Linked DNA regions of Homo sapiens: regions 1 and 2 are each linked to region 3. The links are contacts of gene promoters, found by promoter capture Hi-C in human tissues and cell types (Jung and others, 2019). All regions are on one chromosome and are shown on one strand. Each heading gives the region's core, a stretch centred on a gene start or on the middle of the fragment in contact. The rest is flanking DNA. Distances are from core to core; before and after follow the strand shown.

What was found. Contacts are between HindIII fragments. The study calls those that stand out against the background at their distance.
Region 1: a fragment that was not itself captured here is called in contact with the fragment with the promoter of TJAP1 in region 3 in 2 of the 25 tissues and cell types used here (lymphoblastoid cells and pancreas).
Region 2: a contact is called between a fragment that was not itself captured here and the fragment with the promoter of TJAP1 in region 3, in 1 of the 25 tissues and cell types used here (liver).

What each region holds. Positions count from the first base shown.
Region 1 is chr6:43,029,616-43,032,842 of GRCh38, reverse strand. No RefSeq gene overlaps it. Among named protein-coding and RNA genes, the nearest start is that of RRP36, 9.6 kb to the right of the region's middle. The HindIII fragment of the contact is 7,304 bases long and covers 1-3,227 here.
Region 2 is chr6:43,130,282-43,133,602 of GRCh38, reverse strand. PTK7 (protein tyrosine kinase 7 (inactive)) reads right to left here. Exons shown (of 20, transcript NM_002821.5): 4 at 3,183-3,321; 5 at 2,942-3,092; 6 at 1,439-1,587; 7 at 916-1,182. Among named protein-coding and RNA genes, the nearest start is that of SRF, 39 kb to the left of the region's middle. RefSeq lists enhancers at 537-1,036, 1,037-1,538. The HindIII fragment of the contact is 9,413 bases long and covers 1-3,321 here.
Region 3 is chr6:43,476,040-43,478,970 of GRCh38, reverse strand. TJAP1 (tight junction associated protein 1) reads right to left here and starts at 1,401. Exons shown (of 11, transcript NM_001350562.2): 1 at 1,343-1,401; 2 at 739-884. RefSeq lists an enhancer at 258-1,051. The HindIII fragment of the contact is 19,262 bases long and covers 1-2,931 here.

The sequences.
Region 1 (3,227 bases), core at 316-2,815, 450 kb after region 3:
GTCTCCTAACTGGGGGCATAGAGCTGCTTTTAAGGTAGGCATTCTTTCTTTAAGAAAGGGTCTTGCTCTGTCACCCAGGTTGGAGTACGGGTGGCACAATCACGGCTCACTGCCTCGACCTCCCAGGCTCAAGTGATCCTCCTGCCTCAGCCGCCTGAGTATTCTTTGTAGAGATGCAGTTTCACCATGTTGCCCAGGCTGGATAGACTTTCAAATGTTCCTGGCTTATGATTTATCTAGCCTTAAAAAAAAAACAAAAAAAACAAAAAAAAAACTAGGCCAGGTGCGGTGGCTCACACCTGTAAACCTATCACTTTGGGAGGCCTAGGTGGGTGGATTACTTGAGGTCAGGAGTTTGAGACCAGCTGGCCAACACGGTGAAACCCCATCCCTACAAAAAAAAAAATTAGCCAGGTGTGGTGGCATACACCTGAAATACCAGCTGCTCAGGGAGCTGAGGCAGAAGAATAGCTTTAACCTGGGAGGAAGAGGTTACAGTGAGCCAAGATCGTGCCACTGCACTCCAGCTTGGGCGACAGAGGGAGACCCCATCTCAAAAAAAATTCTAGAAAATGCCCAGCCTCTTTGAAATATTCTTTCCTGAAATTTTGATTGTCAAGTCTCACATTTATCTTCATTTTGTTGTTTTATAGACAGGATCTTGCTCTGTCACCCAGGCTGGAGTGCAGTGATGCCATCATAGCTCACTGCAACCTCAAGTTCCTGGGGTCAAGCAATCCTCCAGCCTGAGCCTCCAGAGAAGCTGGGACTATAGGCATGTGCCACATGTCTGATTTTTTAATTTTTTTTTAGAGACAAGGTCTCCTTATGTTGCCCAGGCTGGTCCCCAACTGAGGACCTCAAGCAGTCCTCTCTATGCCTCCCAAAAAGTTGGGATTACAGGTGTCAGCAACTACACCCAGCCTCTTCCATGTTTTTTAACCTCTTTTCCTTAGTTTCCACTTCTCTGTATGTCAGTGCTCTCTCTGTGTAACTTCAGATCTATTTCCAGTTCATTCTCCCTTTAGGGAGAAGTCTAATCTGCTGCTTAACCATAAAGTTTCTAACTTCTCGTAGTGTACTTTTTTTTTTCTGAGGTGGAGTATCACTCTTGTTGCCCAGGCTGGAGTGCAGTGGCGCAATCTTGGCTCACCGCAACCTCCGCCTCCTAGGTTCAAGCAATTCTCCTGCCTCAGCCTCCCAAGTAGCTAGGATTACAGGCATGCGCCACCACGCCCGGCTAATTTTTTGTATTTTTAGTAGAGACGGGGTTTCACCATGTTGGCCAGGCTAGTCTCGAACTCCCAACCTCAGGCGATCCACCCACCTCAGCCTCCCAAAGTGCTGGGATTACAGGCACGAGCCACCATGCCTGGCCCTACTTTTCATTTTTAAAAGGTTTTCTTTTTAAGTTTTACTTTTTTTTTTTTTTTTTTTGAGATGGAGTCTCGCTCTGTTCCCCAGGCTGGAGTGCAGTGGCACGATCTCGGCTCACTGCAAGCTCTGCCTCCCAGGTTCATGCCATCCTCCTGCCTCAGCCTCCAGAGTAGCTGGGACTACAGGCACCCGCCACCACGCCTGGCTAATTTTTTGTATTTTTAGTAGAGATAGGGTTTCACTGTACTAGCCAGGATGGTCTCCATCTCCTGACCTCGTGATCCACCCGCTTTGGCCTCCCAAAGTGCTGGGAACACAGGCGTGAGCCACCGTGACCGGCCTTAAGTTTTACTTTTTAATCACACCAGTTTAGTACCTTTTGATATTCATTTGTCACACTTTTTCTTTAAACATAAGACATTTTGTATTTTTTATTTTATACTTCTCACATTTTAATTTTTGCCAGTCTGGACGACAGAGTGAGACTCCATCTCAAAAACAAAAAACAAACAAAAAAAAAACAATCCTCAAGAAAGGATTACATTTGCTTCTGCCAGGACCCTGGAGACACTATCTACTTGAGACTTTTTTTTTTTTTGAGACGGAGTCTCGCTCTGTCGCCCAGGCTGGAGTGCAGTGGCGCGATCTTGGTTCACTGCAACCTCCGCCTCCCGCGTTCAAGCAATTCTCCTGCTTCAGCCTCCTGAGTAGCTGGGATTACAGGCGCCCACCACCACACCCGGCTAATTTTTGTATTTTTAGTAGAGACAGGGTTTCACCATGTTGGTCAGGCTGGTCTCGAACCCCTGACCTCGTGATCCACCTGCCTCTGCCTCCCAAAGTGCTGGGATTACAGGTGTGAGCCACCATGCCTGGCCATTTTTTTTTGGGGGGGGGGGCGCGGTGGTGATTTCACTCTTTTTGCCCAGGCTGGAGTGCAGTGGTGCGATCTTGGCTCACTGCAACCTCTACCTCCCAGGCTCAAGTGATTATCCTACCTCAGCCTCCTGAGTAGCTGGGATTACAGGCACCCACCACCACACCCAGCTAATTTTGTATTTTTAGTAGAGATGGGGTTTCACCATGTTGGCCAGGCTGGTCTTGAACTCCTGACCTCAGGTGATCCGCCTGCCTCGGCCTCCCAAAGTGGTGGGATTACAGGTGTGAGCCACCACGCCCAGCCTACTTGAGACTATTTTAAACTAAGTTATCAGCCTGAGGATTTTCCAGACCACATGGGTTATAAACTCTTGTCCCAAACAGTACTGAAGGCCAGCTGTGCTTGTATATTACCATGGAAGCTTTATATCCCTACCTCTTAACATCCCTTGCATCCAAAACCAAAGCCAAGTAGGGGAGTTGTGGGATTGGTTCACCCACTAAATGATCTTGTCATCCTTGAGGGGCCCAGATTTAAGTGGGAGGGGTTTCTGATCTGACTTCCCAGTTGTAGATGCCTTAGGCTTTATTGCCTATCCCAATATGTGGCCCACTAAAAAGTAGTTCTAGGCTACCCACAAATCCCACATAAAAGCAGAGGCCTTAAGGCCGGAACGGTGGCTCAACGCCTGTAATCCCAGCACTTTGGGAGTCTGAGGCAGGCAGATCACTTGAGGCCAAGAGTTTAAGATCAAACTAGCCAACATGGCAAAACTCTATCTCTACTAAAAATACGAAAGAAATTAGCTGGGCTTGGTGGCGGATGTCAGCTACTCGGGAGGCTGAGGCACAAGAATCACTTGAACCTGGGAGGTGGAGGTTGCAGTGAGGCGAGATTGCACCACTGTACTCTAGCCTGGGTGACAGAGCGAGACTCTGTTTCGGGGGGGAAACACAAAAAGAAGGCCACA
Region 2 (3,321 bases), core at 243-2,742, 350 kb after region 3:
GAGGATATAAGGTTTGTTTTGTTTTGTTTTGAGATGGAGTCTCACTCTGTTGCCCGGGCTGAAGAGCAACGGTGCGATCTCAGCTCATTGCAACCTCTGCCTCCTGGGTTCAAGCAATTTTCCTCCCTCAGCCTCCTGAGTAGCTGGGATTACAGGTGTGCCCCACCACGCCCAGCTAATTTTTGTATTTTTAGTAGAGATGGGGTTTCACCATGTTGGTCAGGCTGGTCTCCAACTCCTGACCTTGTGATCCGCCCGGCTCGGCCTCCCAAAGTGCTGGGATTACAGGCATGAGCCACCGCGCCCAGCCTGATATAAAGGGTTTATCATGTGTACTTTCAGTCATATGTCTTGCTTTTCTCCCCCTCTTTTTTTTCATAAGTAATATGTTTAGTAAAGAAATTTGGAAAGCATAACAAACTAAAACAAATTAAAAATCACCTATAATTTTGTCCACTATTACCTCCCAAAAAAGAAAAAAAGAAAAATCATTTTCATCTACTTCATTTGACCTTTCCAACCACCTTGTGGGGTAGGTAGTAGATTACTGGCTCCATTTTATGGATGAGGAGACTGAACCCCAGTAAGGTGGGTGATTTGCTACCATCGTCACTCTGTGCATTGGGAGCATAGTGGGACCCAGGTCTCTAGATTCCTAGTCTATTGCTCTTTCCTCTGTACCCAGAGGACCATTTTTCTGTGAGGGCTGTCACTATTTCCTCTGGAGCACCCACCCTAACCCCTGTGCCTGGCTCTCTACTGTCTACACCGACTCCCAGTAGTGAACTGATTCCCAAGCCTGCAGGGCCCAGAACTGAGAGGACCTCAGGTGAGTACCAGGGAAGCCTCTGTCCATCACACCCAGACCTGTGTTCCCCTCCACCTCTCCTTGACCTTCAGGGCAAAGGTGCTCACTGGCCACAGTGATGTTGACATCCTGTCTCCGCTGACCAGCCAGGTTGGCCGCGTGGCAGGTGTAGACACCAGCATCACTTTCAGCAATATTGGCCAACACCAGCTCGTGGCCCTTCTGGTAGACCCTGCCATGGGTGGGCAGCCGGACTCCCGCGTGCTCCCACCACACGCTGGGCTCTGGCAGACCCTTGGGGGGAAGGCAGGTCACACGCTCCTCGCTGCCAGCTGTAAACACCCGTGGCTCAAATAGCGGCATGTCTTCAATCTCTGCAAGGACATAAGTAGGAGGAATGGCCCAATTATTGTGGGTCTCAGGGTACATGATGTTCTCCCACAGCAAGCCTAGGCCCTTTCCCAGCACAAACCCTCCCCTGCAGCCCTCTGCATATCCTCTTCCTACTCCCAGCATCCTTTTCTTCCCCTGCCCTCCAAGCGGCTGAGTAAAAACAGAAGCCTAAATCTCTATGTGCCAAAAATGTTAAAGGCAGCCTCCCACATCAGCACCCCAGACCCAGAGACTCACCTGCTAGGTGAAGTGTGGCTTCCAGGATGATGGGTGGGCCCCTCTGCCCCTGGCCAATGCAGCGGTAGATCCCTGCATTGCGTGGCCGGACCTGGGTCAGCAGCAGAGACCCGTTGGCAAACACTGTGGCTCTGCGGAGGTGTGGGGGGCTGCAGAGGGGAGAGTGCAATTTGGAGAAAGTGGCCAATAGGCCTAGTTCTGGAAAGGAATGCAAGGGAACCCCTTTCCTGCAAAGTCGGAAATGTAGTAAGGAATCGACCAGGAACAGGGCAGAGAGAAGGAAGCTGACACTCCAGACTGGTGTGTGTGCCTGCATACACTTGCTCAGGTGCACGTGCAGGTGTGTGTTCCAACTACAGGAGATCAGCTCGGGAAGCAATGAGGCAAATGGCAATGCAGGTGCGAGAGAGAGTGATATGGTTTGGCTGTGTCCCCACTCAAATCTCATCTTAAATTGTAGCTCCCATAATTCCCACATGTTGTGGGAGGGACCCAGTGGGAGGTAACTGAATCATGGGGGCAAGTCTTTCCCGTGCTGTTCTCATGATAGTGAACAAGTCTCACGAGATCTGATGGTTTTAAAATGAGGCATTCCCCTGCAGAAGCTCTCTCTCCTTTGCCTGCTGCCATCCATGTAAGACGTGACTTGGTCTTCCTTGCCTTCTGCCATGATTGTGAGGCTTGCCCAGCCATGTGGAACTGTAAGTCCAATTAAACCTCTTTCTTTTGTAAACTGCTCAGTCTCGGGTATGTCTTTATCAGCAGCATTAAAATGGACTAATACACAGAATAACCACCATGTGCAACTGTCAAGACAGGGAAGCCACCTTCCCACAGGGCCACGTTGATAGGGCACCCAGCTCCAGGGTCAGATACCCCTCAGCCATACCAGGCAGGCTACTGATGATGTCCTCAGGGCTGAAGCCAAGTGGCATCCAAGCCCCTAGCCTAGGAAGCCACACCCCCAAGGACCATGGTCGTGCCTGACACTGCAAAGGTGTTCTATGTTCTCCTAGGGTCCAGGCAAGAACAGAAGTCCCTGCAGTAGGGCTGGAACCTTCTAGAGGTGTTTGCTTCCTCTAAAAAGTGTGTGTGTGTGTGTGTGTGTGTGTGTGTGTGTGTGTGTGTGTGTGTGATGTCTTTGCCACACTGGATCACGCTATCTAGACTATGACCACCTGACTACCTAGGTCTCTTGTGTCTCTCTCATCCCTGGGGTCTCTACCCTTCCATCCCAGAAGACCCATGTGGGTGGTGGGGAGAGAGAAGTGGAACCATCACTAGCTCAGAGTGCCTTTGTGCAAACTGGAAAAGGGCTCTTCCCAGAGACTCTTCCCTGTGTCAGACTCATCTTGTAAAAGCAAAACATTCAACTGTGTCTCTTGGAAATTTGAAATAATACATGTACAAATCTGTGATGTCTGTGATACAAATCGCACCCCCTTCTACAGAATGCATGTGTGTGGTACATGGTACTGGAATGCTCCCAGCCAGATGCCTTACCGACTGCGGTTAGTGATGGGAGTCTCATCCTCAAAGAGCCACTGCAGGCTCGGGGGTGGCTGGGCTGAGAACTGGCAATGGAACATGGCCTCCTCATACCTCGCTACTACCACGTCCTGGGGTGCCAGCACCACCCTGGCAAAGCTTTCATCTGGAGAGGGAAAGATGGGGGAGCATGCAGCCTGGGTGGTGAGGCCCTCCTGTGCTCACCTCATCCCTTCCGCCCCCACCCCAGGCTCACCAGCAATGCTCAAGGTGAAGTTCTGGCTGCTGCAAGCCTGGCCAAAAGCACTGTGGGCGCAGCAGGAATACAGCCCACTATGCTCAGGACCAGCTGGCCGGAGCGTCAGGTTCCGCTCCTTGCTGCTGACTGTGTGGTT
Region 3 (2,931 bases), core at 152-2,651:
AAGAGCAAGTTCCATGATCCTTTCTTTGCATCACCACACTTGTCCAACTGTAAAGTAGCTCTCAAATATTAGGGGTCTCAAGGATAGGCAGTGCGGTGCTAAACATTCCCAGAGCTTTACATCAGTCCACTTGATCTCTTACCAGAAACTGATCTACATTTTTTCTCTCTAATCCCAACCTGCCTTTCCCTCACCTCTGATACCCCCACCAAAATCCACATCCCCAGAGGAACACTAATGAGCCCTTCTTACCAAAAAAGCAAAAGTAGACACACAGCGAGAATGAATTCAGGAGTCAGTGACAGCAGGTACCTAAATGGTCAGTGAACACGATCAGAATTTGTTTTCTCGTGACTCCCCACCATCTGTCACCCACAAATCTCCACTTCCAGGCAGGACGCCAAAGTGAAGAAGTGATGGGGATATTGAAGCAGAAACAATGAGCATGTAGGAAACTGCTTGTGACAGGGATGTGTTAACATCCTTCGGCCTGGTCTCTAGGCCTCTGTCCAGGTTTACTTGCATAGGTGAAGGCACACAAGGCTTAATTCTACACCAACTCTCAAAAGTCAGCCTGCAATCTACGCCAAACACTAACTTAAGGACCTCAGACAAAGGACAAACTCTATAAAAGTGAGCCCTTTTCAGACCAAATGTTTCTTGGCATCACTCTAAGCCCATGCATCCTCCTCCCAGGGAGCATGCCAGCCAGAAACCTGTCACTGGAAGCCACCTTACCCGCTCTGGGGTTGGACTGGGGCAAGTCGCTATCTCTTCTTCTTTCCAAGTAGGCACTGTAATTTCTTCCAGTCCCTGGGGCACCTGAATCTTCAGCTGAAATTGGGGCAGATGCTGCTAACAGCTGTGGAAAGGCTGATCTAAGCCTAGAAGAGGGTCATTTGACTGGCTTTAGTTCCCTCCTTAGCAGATCTGCCCGGCATCCTCCAGATCTCTCTTCCTCACTATCCCACTCTACTAGAAAGATCCCTTTCCCCTCTGGCCGGCCAGATACAGTCGGGCCTCTATCCCACGCTCCAGGCTTCTTTATTCGCGGCTAAGAAATTTTCCTCCAACTTGTGACTCTGCTTCTCCAGGGCCTGCACAACACCTACTTCTGGCTGCCCCGCCCCCAAATCCCCCTCCCCTAGGGCTGCCACTGGACCCTAGGGCCCCGGTCCGCCCCAGCTCCTTTTTTTCCTCTCCGCCTCGGACCTTACTCCATTCCATCTCCTCTTTTCAACCCTGGAGCCAGTACCCCCTTCGCCCCTACTACAGGCTAGGGCCCCCGCAATCCTCCCCAACTCTGGCTTCCCCGCCCGACTACTCCAACCCCACAACAAACTTTCCGCCGCTGCCAGCTGCGTTCAGGCCGCCATCTTGCCGCGGGGCAGGCCGGGTAGTGGCCAGGGCCGCGGGAATCCCCACGCACTTGGCGTGTCGCGTCATCTGAGGCGGGGCCATGGGGGCGGGGCCTCGGGTTGGGGAGGTGGGACACTAGGTAGGTGATGGTGAAAAATGGGGCTCTCCTGAAAGCAGGGATTGGAGGACTGGCCACAGAAGGAAGGAGGTGTCAGGAGCAGGGCAATAGCGGGAAGCGGGGAAAGAATCCAGTACTGAAAGAAAAAAAAAAAAAAAAAGAATAGGGGAACACATCTCAAAGATACAGTGGGAGAGAGAATCGTGCTACTGGTTCCCCGTCATCCAGAGAATAAAACCAGCTTTTCAGTTTGGCATTCAAAGATCCGCATGATCCAGGCTCTTCCACCTTCATCAGCCTCATTTTTTGCCTCTCCTGGGAACTTCAGGTTCCCAAATTGTCCTTTGTTTTCAGGACATCGGGCCTTAAGATGTCTAATCTCTCTCCTCCTCCTTTGCATCATCAATTCCTCCTATTCCTTCAAACCATCAGCTAAAATGTCACCTCCCCCAGAAAGATTTCCCTTTAGTGCTCCTTTTGCTGGGCATCACTAGCAACTTGTACATAGCTTTACTGTAGCTGTCCCGTGCAGTGTAATTATTTATTTACATGTTATACCACTTTTGCCCTGCTGCTTCTTCAGGGCAAAAACTATGTTTGATTGCATCTTCATACTCCCTAGCAGGTGCTTGGCACACAATAATTGCCTAATGAATAAATGGCATGTTTTCCTCCAATGCATTAAGCATATTTCTGCCTCAGGGTCTCTAAATTTGCTATTCCCCATACCTGGAATGTTCTTCCTCCAAATATTGACTCTCATTTGTGTCTTTGCTCAAGTGTCATCACTTTAGAGAAGCCTTCCTTGGCCACTCAATCTAAATCAGCATCCCTATTCTCCTTTACCCTGCTTTAATGTTTTCATTCATAGTACTTATCATTATCTGACATTATATTAAATATTTATTGTTTATTGATCATCTCCCCACTACAAAGCAAACTCCAGAGGTCTGGGATGTTTTCTTGCTCATCACAGTATCCCCAGTGTCTAAAACAATGCCTGGCATAGTAGGTATTCAATAGATTTTTTTTATTCTGTTTGTTTAATTAATTAATTAATTTTTGAGACAGGGTCTCACTCTGTTGCCCAGGCTGGAGTGTAGTGGTGCGATCTCGGCTCACTGCAACCTCCGCCTCCCGGGTTCAAGTGATTCTCCCACCTCAGTTTCCTGTGTAGCTGGGATTACAGGCGCATGCCAGCTAATTTTTTGTATTTTTAGTAGAGATGGGAGTTCCACCATTCCACCATGTTGGCCAGGCTGGTCTCGAACTCCTGACCTCAAGTGATCCACCTGCCTCAGCCTCCCAAAGTGCTGAGATTACAGGTGTGAGCCACTGCACCGGCCAGTAAATATTTATTGAATGAATAAATGGTATGGAGGTTGGTGATTGACAGATTTTGGAATATACTGGTGGAGAAGAGGGGTTGAAAATACTATAAAATAAGAAAATGC